Linked DNA regions of Homo sapiens: region 1 is linked to region 2. Evidence: promoter capture Hi-C in 16 types of primary human blood cells and fetal thymus (Javierre and others, 2016). All regions are on one chromosome and are shown on one strand. Each heading gives the region's core, a stretch centred on a gene start or on the middle of the fragment in contact. The rest is flanking DNA. Distances are from core to core; before and after follow the strand shown. Region 1 has its middle 14 kb from the start of RAD18. Region 2 holds the start of SRGAP3-AS3 (SRGAP3 antisense RNA 3).

Region 1 (4,604 bases), core at 918-3,417, 240 kb after region 2:
TACTCTGTCCTGCAGATGAGGAAACTGAGGCTCTGAGAGGCTAAACAGCTTGCCCAAGGTTAGGCTAGGAAGTAGAGAAGCCAGAATTTGAATTCAGTCCGCCTAACTCCAAACCCATGCTCTTTATAAGTTTGTCATACTGCCTCTGATTTGAGCATTGTACTCATTACAGCAGGATTAGGGGCAGGATTTCATGATGAAGGTAGCTTGCTGCTTGCTGCAGTCAAGAAATACTCCAGGGCCTTTATATCCCACCAAGACTTTGTATCAGGGAAGAATACAAGTTGCCCAAAGGAGATTGTGGGGCTGCCCATGAAAAATAATAAATGGTGATGATTTTCAGTCTCTCTTTCTGATTAAACCTCTGCTGGATCTTCATGGAAGGGCCTCCTTGCAGCCTCAGTGACTCATTCCCACCAAAAATGCTCATCACTCAATGATGGTCTCTTGCGAATTCCAGACTCCTCTGCTATGAAAATGTCTTAGTCTATTTTCTGTTGCTGTAACAGAATAGAACAGACTGGGTAATTCATAAAGAAAAACAGCTTATTTGGCTCATGGTTCTGGAGGCTGGAAAGTCCAAGAACATGACACTAGCATCTGGCTAGGGCCATCTCATGGTGGAAGGCAGAAGGGCAAAAGAGACAGTGTGAGGGGCAGACTCTTTTATAACCTTCTGTCATGATAACAATCCCATGCCCATGGCAATGACATTAATTGATTCATGAGGGTGGAGCCCTCATGAACCAGTCACCTCTTATTAGGTGCCCTCTCCCAAGATTATTGCATTGGGTATTAAGTTTCCAACACATAAATTTGGGGGACACATTCAAACTACTAACCTTCTAAGAGGCTAAACTTTGTATGTGTTCCATAATCTGTTTACTTGCTCATAGCAACAGTACACATTTGAAAGCTTCAAATCAGGAGCCTCTCATTCATTCAACAAGCGTGTATGAAGCACCTTAGCACCTTTTTATGCAACTTGCCTCAAGTTAGCTGCTGGGGACACAGAATGATGAGCCCCAGTTCCTTTCCTCAAGTTGCATACAGTCTAATTGCACAAAATGATCACTCTAGAATTCTAAGATCGACTTTTACTCAATGATAAATAGAACAGTGTCTCTAACCCACAGAGGCACAAAGGGCAGATTTTAGCAACTTGACTATTTTGTCAGCCACAAAGCATAGACCATTGCTGGATTGTCCATTGCACATCTGTTTAGGAATTTTTTGTTTGCAAACGACAAACTATTCAACCCAAACAGCCCTAAGCAAAAGAGAATTTATTGGCTCACATGGGTGGAAACTCCAGTCTAGAAATGGCTTCAAACCCAGGATGATGTGACGATGTGAGTGTTGTCTCCGGGGTGCAGTTCTCTTCTTTCAGGTTGGCTCTGCTCAGCTCTCTGGGTTGACTTTATGCTCAGACAGCTTGTCTGATATTTTGTGGTTGCCCAGTGGCTGCTGAAGCTTCCACTACCTGCACCTCCTCAGCTTCAGTAGTCTTGGGTCTGATTCTCACTGACCAGAATTAAGCCACAGGTTTATCCCAAAAGCAGACCAAGGGGATGGAATAGAAAAATGGCCTTAAGCAACCTGTATTTTGAAGGGTGGTGTCAACCCCACCAAGACTTTGCATCAGGGAAGAATACAAGTTGCCCAAAGGAGATTTTGGGGCTGCCCATGAAAAATAATAAATGGTGATGGTTTTCAGTCTCTCAGTTTTAGGGTAGTTAGCTATGCAGCAATAGCTAACTGATACACTAGAAAAATGCTCACGCAAATATGTAGAATTTTGTCCTTGTCCATGGACTGTACATTGACTTCACAATAATAAAGTTAACATCCATCAAGTGCATTCTGTATGTTGACACATTACCAAGCACTTCACATGCCTTGCCTCATTGAATTCTTACAAACAACTTGTGGGAGTAGATTCTGCTAGCACCCCCAGTTAATAAATGAGAAGACTGATCCTCAGGGAGTTCAAAATGCAGGGACTTAAAGCACTTTCAGGCCAGCAAGAATTCCATGGCCCCCAAATGCCTAGCTGCAGGGAGGTCTGCTTGCCTTGACAACCACCTTAGGAGTAAGGTCTATCTCAGCTTCTCTCAGGAACCTATGATAGCTCTGTTACTCATCCATTTCTTTTAAGCCCTAACATTGAGAATACTTACTATCGATTCCTTGCATTAGTGCCACATGTGTCTTTACTGTTGTTGAGAACATTTTCTATTTTCCCCTTTTTCTACTCCAACTCTCCCAAGAACATATAAATTATATTAGATGGGATGTTCATTTTACAGATGGGGAAACTGAGGAACAGAGAAGATCCAGGGCTTGTCCCAAGTCCCAGGATCACATTGAGGGAGAGAAAGGGTCTCTGGCTTTCCTGGACCCTGGCCCATGCTCCCTAGACCCCAGCCACTCTCCCTCCACCCACCCCAAGCATCTCCCACTCCCATGCTTCACACTGGCTGGGTGATTTGGACGAGCTTCAGTCATGGGTGTAAGTGCAAAGGCTCTGGATTCAGACAGATCTGAGTGTGGATCCCAGCACCGGCTTGTATCAGCTGGTTGACTTTAGCAAGTGACAAAACCTCCTGGAGCCTCCATTTCCTCAGGAACACAGGGCTAAGAAGGCTCTGCTCCACAGGGTTGTTTGCGGTCTGGAGTGGATGATCTACGTAACATCCCTGGACCATCCAGGCAATCAGCAAAGGCTGCTGTGTTCATCCATGGTTGCTTCTGCTCCTTAAAGAGTTTCTGCTTCATCTCCATGCTCTGCAGACAGAAAGAGCAGGTTGTTGGGCATCTGATGAGTGACTGAACCGAAGGAGCTCTAAGGAAAAAGCTTCAGTGGGATTCTGCCATTCATTGGCTACCAGATTTGGGGAATGTCTCTTCCCCTGTCTGGGCCTCAGTATCCTCATCTGTAAAACAAGGGGGTTGGGGAAGCTGACCTTGATTATTTCCTCCAGCTCTGAGGGCTCACTCAGTGCCTTGGCTGAAGGCTGCAGAAGCACACATAGGGGAGGGCCACCAGCCCCACCACATCCCCTCTGCTTTCTAAAGGGAACTCCCTTAACGACCATGTTTGATATTGTGCTACCCTACCCCCTGACTCCATTGGATTGAGCCAAGGATGGCAGCTGATGCAACAGCAGTTGATGGTAGATTGGTTAGTCACCATGGCCCTTGGCAAAGCTGGACCTGCAGATGACCTTTCTTGGGAAGCTTGACCCAGAAGTAACAAAATGACAGGCCCTGTAAGCAGGAGACCAGAAGATGAGAGCCCACAACAACGAGGAGGTCGGAGGCAGAGAGGTGGCCCTTCTGCACCATAGGGAGGCTGACGTCACTAGGGATGAGACTCTGAGAGCACAGTGACAAAACCAATGGGCAAAGCCAATGGCAGAGATCACAGGCTTCGAGAGCAAAGCCATCCAGTCCCTAGAGAGAGCCAGAACCCCCGGTTGAGTACCTGCCCCAGTGCCTATTCCTCACTGGGAGACCTTACATTCAAGCCCTCCTTACCTGGTGTAACTTGAGTGCGATTTCTGCTTCTTGCAATTAAAACAAAAAAGGGGCTCACGCCTGTAATCCCAGCACTTTGGGAGGCTGAGGCAGGGGGATTGTTTGAGGTCAGGAGCTCAAGACCAGCCTGGCCAACATGGAGAAACCCCGTCTCTACAAAAAATAGAAAACTTAGCTAGGTGTGGTGGTGCATGCCTGTAGTCCCAGCTACTTAGGAGACTGAGGCAGGAGAATCACTTGAACCAAGTGGGTGGAGGTTGCAGTGAGCTGAGATTGTGCCACTGCACTCCAGCCTGGGCAACAGGGCGAGACTCTGTCTCAAAAAAAAAAGGAAAAAGTAGACAGAATGATAATAGCCAACCTGTTAGAGCACTTACTGTGTTCTAAGCCCCTTCACATATAAAGGCCAACTCATTAGTCCTCTCAACCACCCTTTAAAGCAGATACTAATGTTACTCCAGCTTAACCTACGAGGAAATAGTACAGACAGGCTAAGTAACTTGCCATGGGACACACTACTTAGGCATCACGGAGTTGGGGTTCAGAACTAGGCAGTCTCACTCTGGAGCTGGGTCTCCATTCTCTCTCTTAGGCCTGAGGATGAGGCAGGACACTGGGTGTGATCTGAAACAGACAGCTTCACCAAACTGGGAGTGTTTGACCCAAGATACCTCACCCAGAGGGAGTTTGCGCCCCCTTGGCATGGGGGGTGCTGTGGTGGGGTGGGTGGTCATCGGCTGCTCACACAGCCCCCAAAGAAGGAGCAAGGATGGATACAGGGTTTCACCAGGCCATCCTGCCCCAGGCTGCAGCCAAGGGTCAGATCCTGCCTCTAACACGAGGGAGCATTTTATGTTGGGAAATTCCCTAGAGAAAGAGCTGTGCGGGGGTTGGGGAAAGGCCTCCTAGGAACAGCCTGCCAGACAATTGCCTCCACACCTAAGCAGGGAAGTCTAGAAAGGACCCCACTGCTGCCTCAGTGCAAGCAGCGAGGCATGGCCTTGGAGTAGCCTGAAGAGGAGCTTTTGCAGTGGAGGGTTGTGGAGAAGGATGGGGGTGAGGCG
Region 2 (4,560 bases), core at 1,714-4,213:
TTCTTTCTTTATTTTTTTGTACTCTGTCGCCCAGGCTGGAGTTCAGTGGTGCGATCTTGGCTCACTGCAAGCTCCACCTCCCGGGTTCACACCATTCTCCTGCCTCAACCTCATGAGTAGCTGGGACTACAGGTGCCCACCACCATGCCTGGCTAATTTTTTTGTGTTTTTAGTAGAGACGGGGTTTCACCATGCTAGCCAGGATGCTCTTGATCTCCTGACCCCGTGATCCACCCGCCTTGGCCTCCCAAAGTGCTGGGATACAGGTGTGAGCCACTGCCCCTGGCCAGGATTTCATTCTTTTTAAATGGTTGGATGGTATTCCATTCTGTAGATAGGAATTCTTGATCTTCTGCTTCCTCATGGGGTAAAGTTACTCAAGCCCCCTCATCTGTAAATAGAGGTGATAACCTGTGTGCCTGTTCCTGCCACATGTTATGGCTTAGTACATACCTGATTACACTGAACCTCAAGAATCACAGCATACGTCCTAACTCTCACCTGATGCAGAGTCCTCGACAACCATGAGGCTTCTGATTGGAACTTCCTGCAGTAAGGGGCTGACCACCTCAGAAATGAGACTATTTGCATTGTTGGAAAGTCTTGCTAGGAAAGTCTTTCTTGAGTGGAACTGCAAGATGCCTCTCTCCTTTAGAACAATACAGACTAAAATCTAAGCTGGCTGCCTCATGGTAGCTGTTTCGTCATTTGAAGACAGCTTTTGGCCAGGCATGATGGTTCACACCTGTGATCCCAGCACTTTGGGAGGCCTAGGTGGGAGGACCACTTGAGGCCAGGAATTCAAGACCAGCCTGGGGAACATAGTGAGACCCTGTCTCTATTTAAATAAAATAAAATAAAAATAAAATAAGATAAGATAAAATAGGCTGGGCGCAGTGGCTCACGCCTGTAATCCCAACACTTTGGGAGGCCGAGGTGGGTGGATCACCTGAGGTCAGGAGTTTGAGACCAGCCTGGCCAACATGGTGAAACCCCATCTCTACTAAAAATACAAAAATTAGCCAGGTGTGGTGGTTCACACCTGTATTCCCAGCTACTAGAGAGGCTGAGGTGGGAGGATCACTTGAATCCGGGAGGTTGAGGTTGCAGTGAGCCAAGCAGAGATTACAACACTACACTCCAGCCTGGGCAACAGAGTGAGACTCCATCTCAAAAAGTAAATAAATAAATAAAAATAATAAATAATAAAAAGTAAAATTAAAAGATAAAAAATTCAATAAAATGAAATAAAATAAAGACAGCTTTTATGTACTCCTAAATCAGCGGTGGGAAATAGTTTCTACCTGATGTGCCAACTGTGCTGGATTGCAGTGACAGCTGGCGGTCTGTGTTGAGAAGTATTCTGAGGCTGTGTCAGGGTCAGCAGGAGAGTATCAGATCTGCCCTGGGCTTGGGGCTGGGCATGGTGTATATGGACGGTGTGTTTATTTTCTCTGCTAAGCGTTTATGCTTAGATTCTGCCATCATGCTTTAGGTGACTTATTCCCTCATTCTCTGGTCTCTTTTTCTGGCCACACTTCAGCTTATCAACATTTAAAAAGCCATCTGGCTGCCATCTCTTCTCCCTAATTCATTTCTAGGGTGGATTTGACCAATCTGGCTGGCCCAGCTGTGGTCTCTCCTAGAGCATTGTTTCCTGCAATATCTTCCCAAATAGAGGAGGACCATTTTTGGATCTGCAGTCTGCTAATAAACCTTCCAAATTATTAACGGGTCTCTTAAAATCTGGAGCCCAAGCTAAGTAAGCACTGTCTTTCAGAAGTACTCTCAATGGTTCGGAGGCTAGCAGGACTAATAATACATCCCTTGATCCTGTTAATGCGGCTTAAAGGTTGTGTTAGCTTTTTCCCTGTGTTTGTAAAGCCGAAGCTGTAGTGTACCCCCTGCTGCGGATGGTGAGGGCAGGAGAGCCAGATGCAGTGGGGGCAAGATCTCCTCCTGTCCCCTCCCTGCCTCTGTGACTCTTGGTGGCTTGGGGGGCCTGGGGCCTGCAGGGGTGACATATGGCCCCACCGAGGTCCAAAGGCCACAGGTCTCATTCTGTCACAATGAAGTTGTCTGCCCTAAAGGTCCCTGGATCACTGTCAGTCTTGACACTGGAGCAACCTGAAAAAAATAAGGACAATGTAGACATTTTCTCATAAACCTAATGGCACACAATTCAAGACCTGCTCTTTATTACACAAATGATGGTCTTCATTTCCTGCGTGTGGTGTGGTGTGGTGTGTGTGTATGTGTGTGTCAGAAATTATCCTTTCTTAAACAATTGAGGTAGTTCTTCTCCCTGCCCCGAATACCCTTTGAAAAGTTGGCCACCCTCTGTAGATCCCCTTCCTTTTGCGGGGAGGAGGGAGTCTTACCAGGCTGTGAAAGCTGGTCTAAAAACCCCAGCCTTGTCCAAGGTGAGGCCCATCAGAATTTGACGTGCCCCCTTGGAGGGTCTTGAAGAAGCAATCTGGCATCTCAATGAGGCCCCTGTGGCACAGGATTGGGCCATTAATAGTTAAAGTAGTTAAATTTCTCACAGCCCAATGTATTGGAAAGGCAGCAATGTTTTCATTTAGACCTTAGGGCTGGGGTATAATTTAAGGAGAGTGGATTTTGATTTAGGAACTCAGTTAACGAGTGCCAGCCTTGTCAATTTTTTTTTATTGTGTCGAAAAGCACATCACATAAAATTTACTATCTTAACCGTTTTAAATGCACAGTTCAATGACGTTAAATACATTGATAATGTTGTGCAACCGTCACCACCATCCATCTCCAGAACACTTTTCATCTTGTAGGACTGGAACTGCACCCAGTGAACAGGAACTCCCTGTTCCTCCCCCATTCCCTGGCAATCACCAGTCTACTTTCTGTTTCCGTGGTTTTGGCTCCTCTAGGCATCTCGTGTGAGCGGACTCATACAATATTTGTCCTCTGTGTCTGCTGTAGTTTAGTTAGCGTAATGCTTCAGGGTTCATCCGTGTTGAGGCGTGTGTCAGAATTCCCTTCCTTTTTAAGGCGGAGTAATATCCCATTGTATGCGTAGAGGCCGCATCACGTTCATCCGCTCCTCTGGGGAGGGACACTTGGGTGGCTTCCGTGGTGTGGCTCATGTGCTGCGGTCTTGTCAGTTTTTAGCCATGGCTCGGGAAAGTGACTTGGCCCCTCAGTACCTCCGTTTCCTCATCCATTACATCGGAGCCTGTCCTCTACGTGGGACTGAAGTAAGAATCGTTGTTTGTGACAGTGCGTAACTGCAACAGTCCATCGAGTTGAAGTTATTTCTGAGAGCACTGGGCTAGCATTTCTTAGGGTATCTGCTCTGTGGCCATTCAGCTTTGCCAGCCTGAAGTGTAGGAGGAAGGTGGGAGACGGTTCAGAGAAACGATACGGAGAGGACCGGGCTGTGGCTGCTCCACAGGGTGTTTTGGGTGGGGCAGTTCTTCACTGTGGGGACTGTCCCTTATATTGCAGATGCTTAGTACCTTGACCCCTGCCCGTTAAATGCTGGTAGTACTCTCCAGTCATTGTGTTGACTTAAAACGTATGCCCATAATTTTGTATTCCCCTTGTGGGGGATGGTCCTGCCTCCAGGTGAGAGGCAGGGCCTGAGTGTTCTAGAAGGGTCTGTGGAAGTAAGAAGATGAAGCACAGAAGAGGGAAAGCATAAGAGAATGACCTGGTGGGCTGATACATCTGCAGTGTGCATACTAACAGTTGGTGCTCAGGCCCTCTGAGTGTGCATTAGTCAGGGGCCTCCAGATAGAACCAGCTGGAGAGTATATATACATATATATATGTATACATGTGTGTATGTGTATGTGTGTATATGCCTATCTATCTGTGTGTCTATCTGTCTGAGGGGAGTTATTAGGGGGATTGGCTCACATCATAATGGAGGTTGGGAAGTCCCATGCTAGGCCATCTACAAGCTGGAGATCCAGGGAATCCAGGAGCGTTGGCCAGTGTAAGTCTGAAAGTCTCAGAACCAGAGAAGCCAATGGTGCAGCTTTCAGTCTAAGGCCAAAGGCCTGAAAACTGAGGGGAGGCCGCTGGTTCAAGTCCTAGAGTCCAAAGGCTGGGGGACCTGAGTTCTGATGTCTAAGGGCAGGAGAAGAAGGATGCCCCAGCTCCAGGAAAGAGAGAGAAGCAGTGTGCCTTTCCTCTGCCTTTGTGTTCTATTCAGGGCCTCAGCTGATTGGCTGGTGCCAACCCACATGAGTGATCTTCCTTACTGGGTCCACTGGTTCACATGCCAGTGCCTTCCAGAAGCACCCTCACAGACAGACCTAGAAATAATGCTTTACCAGAGATCTGGGTGTCCCTGATTCCAGTCAAGTTGATACCTAAAATGAAGCATCAGCATTGAGCAGAGAGGAGCTTGGGTCACAGAAGGACCACAGCTCTGGGAGGGAGGCAGAGGTCTGTGTTCAAATACCAAGCTTCCTCCTAACTAGTGAGGGAGGCTTGAGAAAATCTCCCACCTCTGGGCCCCATCTGTAAAGTGAGGGCTTTGGAAAAGGTGGTCTTTTTCAACTCTGTGGCTCCAGG

Evidence for each region. Contacts are between HindIII fragments. The CHiCAGO score rates a contact against its expected background, and 5 or more counts as called.
Region 1: a fragment that was not itself captured here is called in contact with the fragment with the promoter of SRGAP3-AS3 in region 2 in 1 of 17 cell types (M0 macrophages); the score reaches 5.5 in M0 macrophages.

What each region holds. Positions count from the first base shown.
Region 1 is chr3:8,975,451-8,980,054 of GRCh38, reverse strand. No RefSeq gene overlaps it. Among named protein-coding and RNA genes, the nearest start is that of RAD18, 14 kb to the right of the region's middle. The HindIII fragment of the contact is 1,384 bases long and covers 1,476-2,859 here.
Region 2 is chr3:9,215,298-9,219,857 of GRCh38, reverse strand. It overlaps SRGAP3-AS3 (SRGAP3 antisense RNA 3), which reads right to left and starts at 2,963. Exons shown (of 5, transcript NR_103443.1): 1 at 2,869-2,963; 2 at 2,382-2,496; 3 at 1,305-2,127; 4 at 502-649; 5 at 350-391. All of the region lies in intron 1 of SRGAP3 (SLIT-ROBO Rho GTPase activating protein 3), which reads left to right. The HindIII fragment of the contact is 5,796 bases long and covers 1-4,453 here.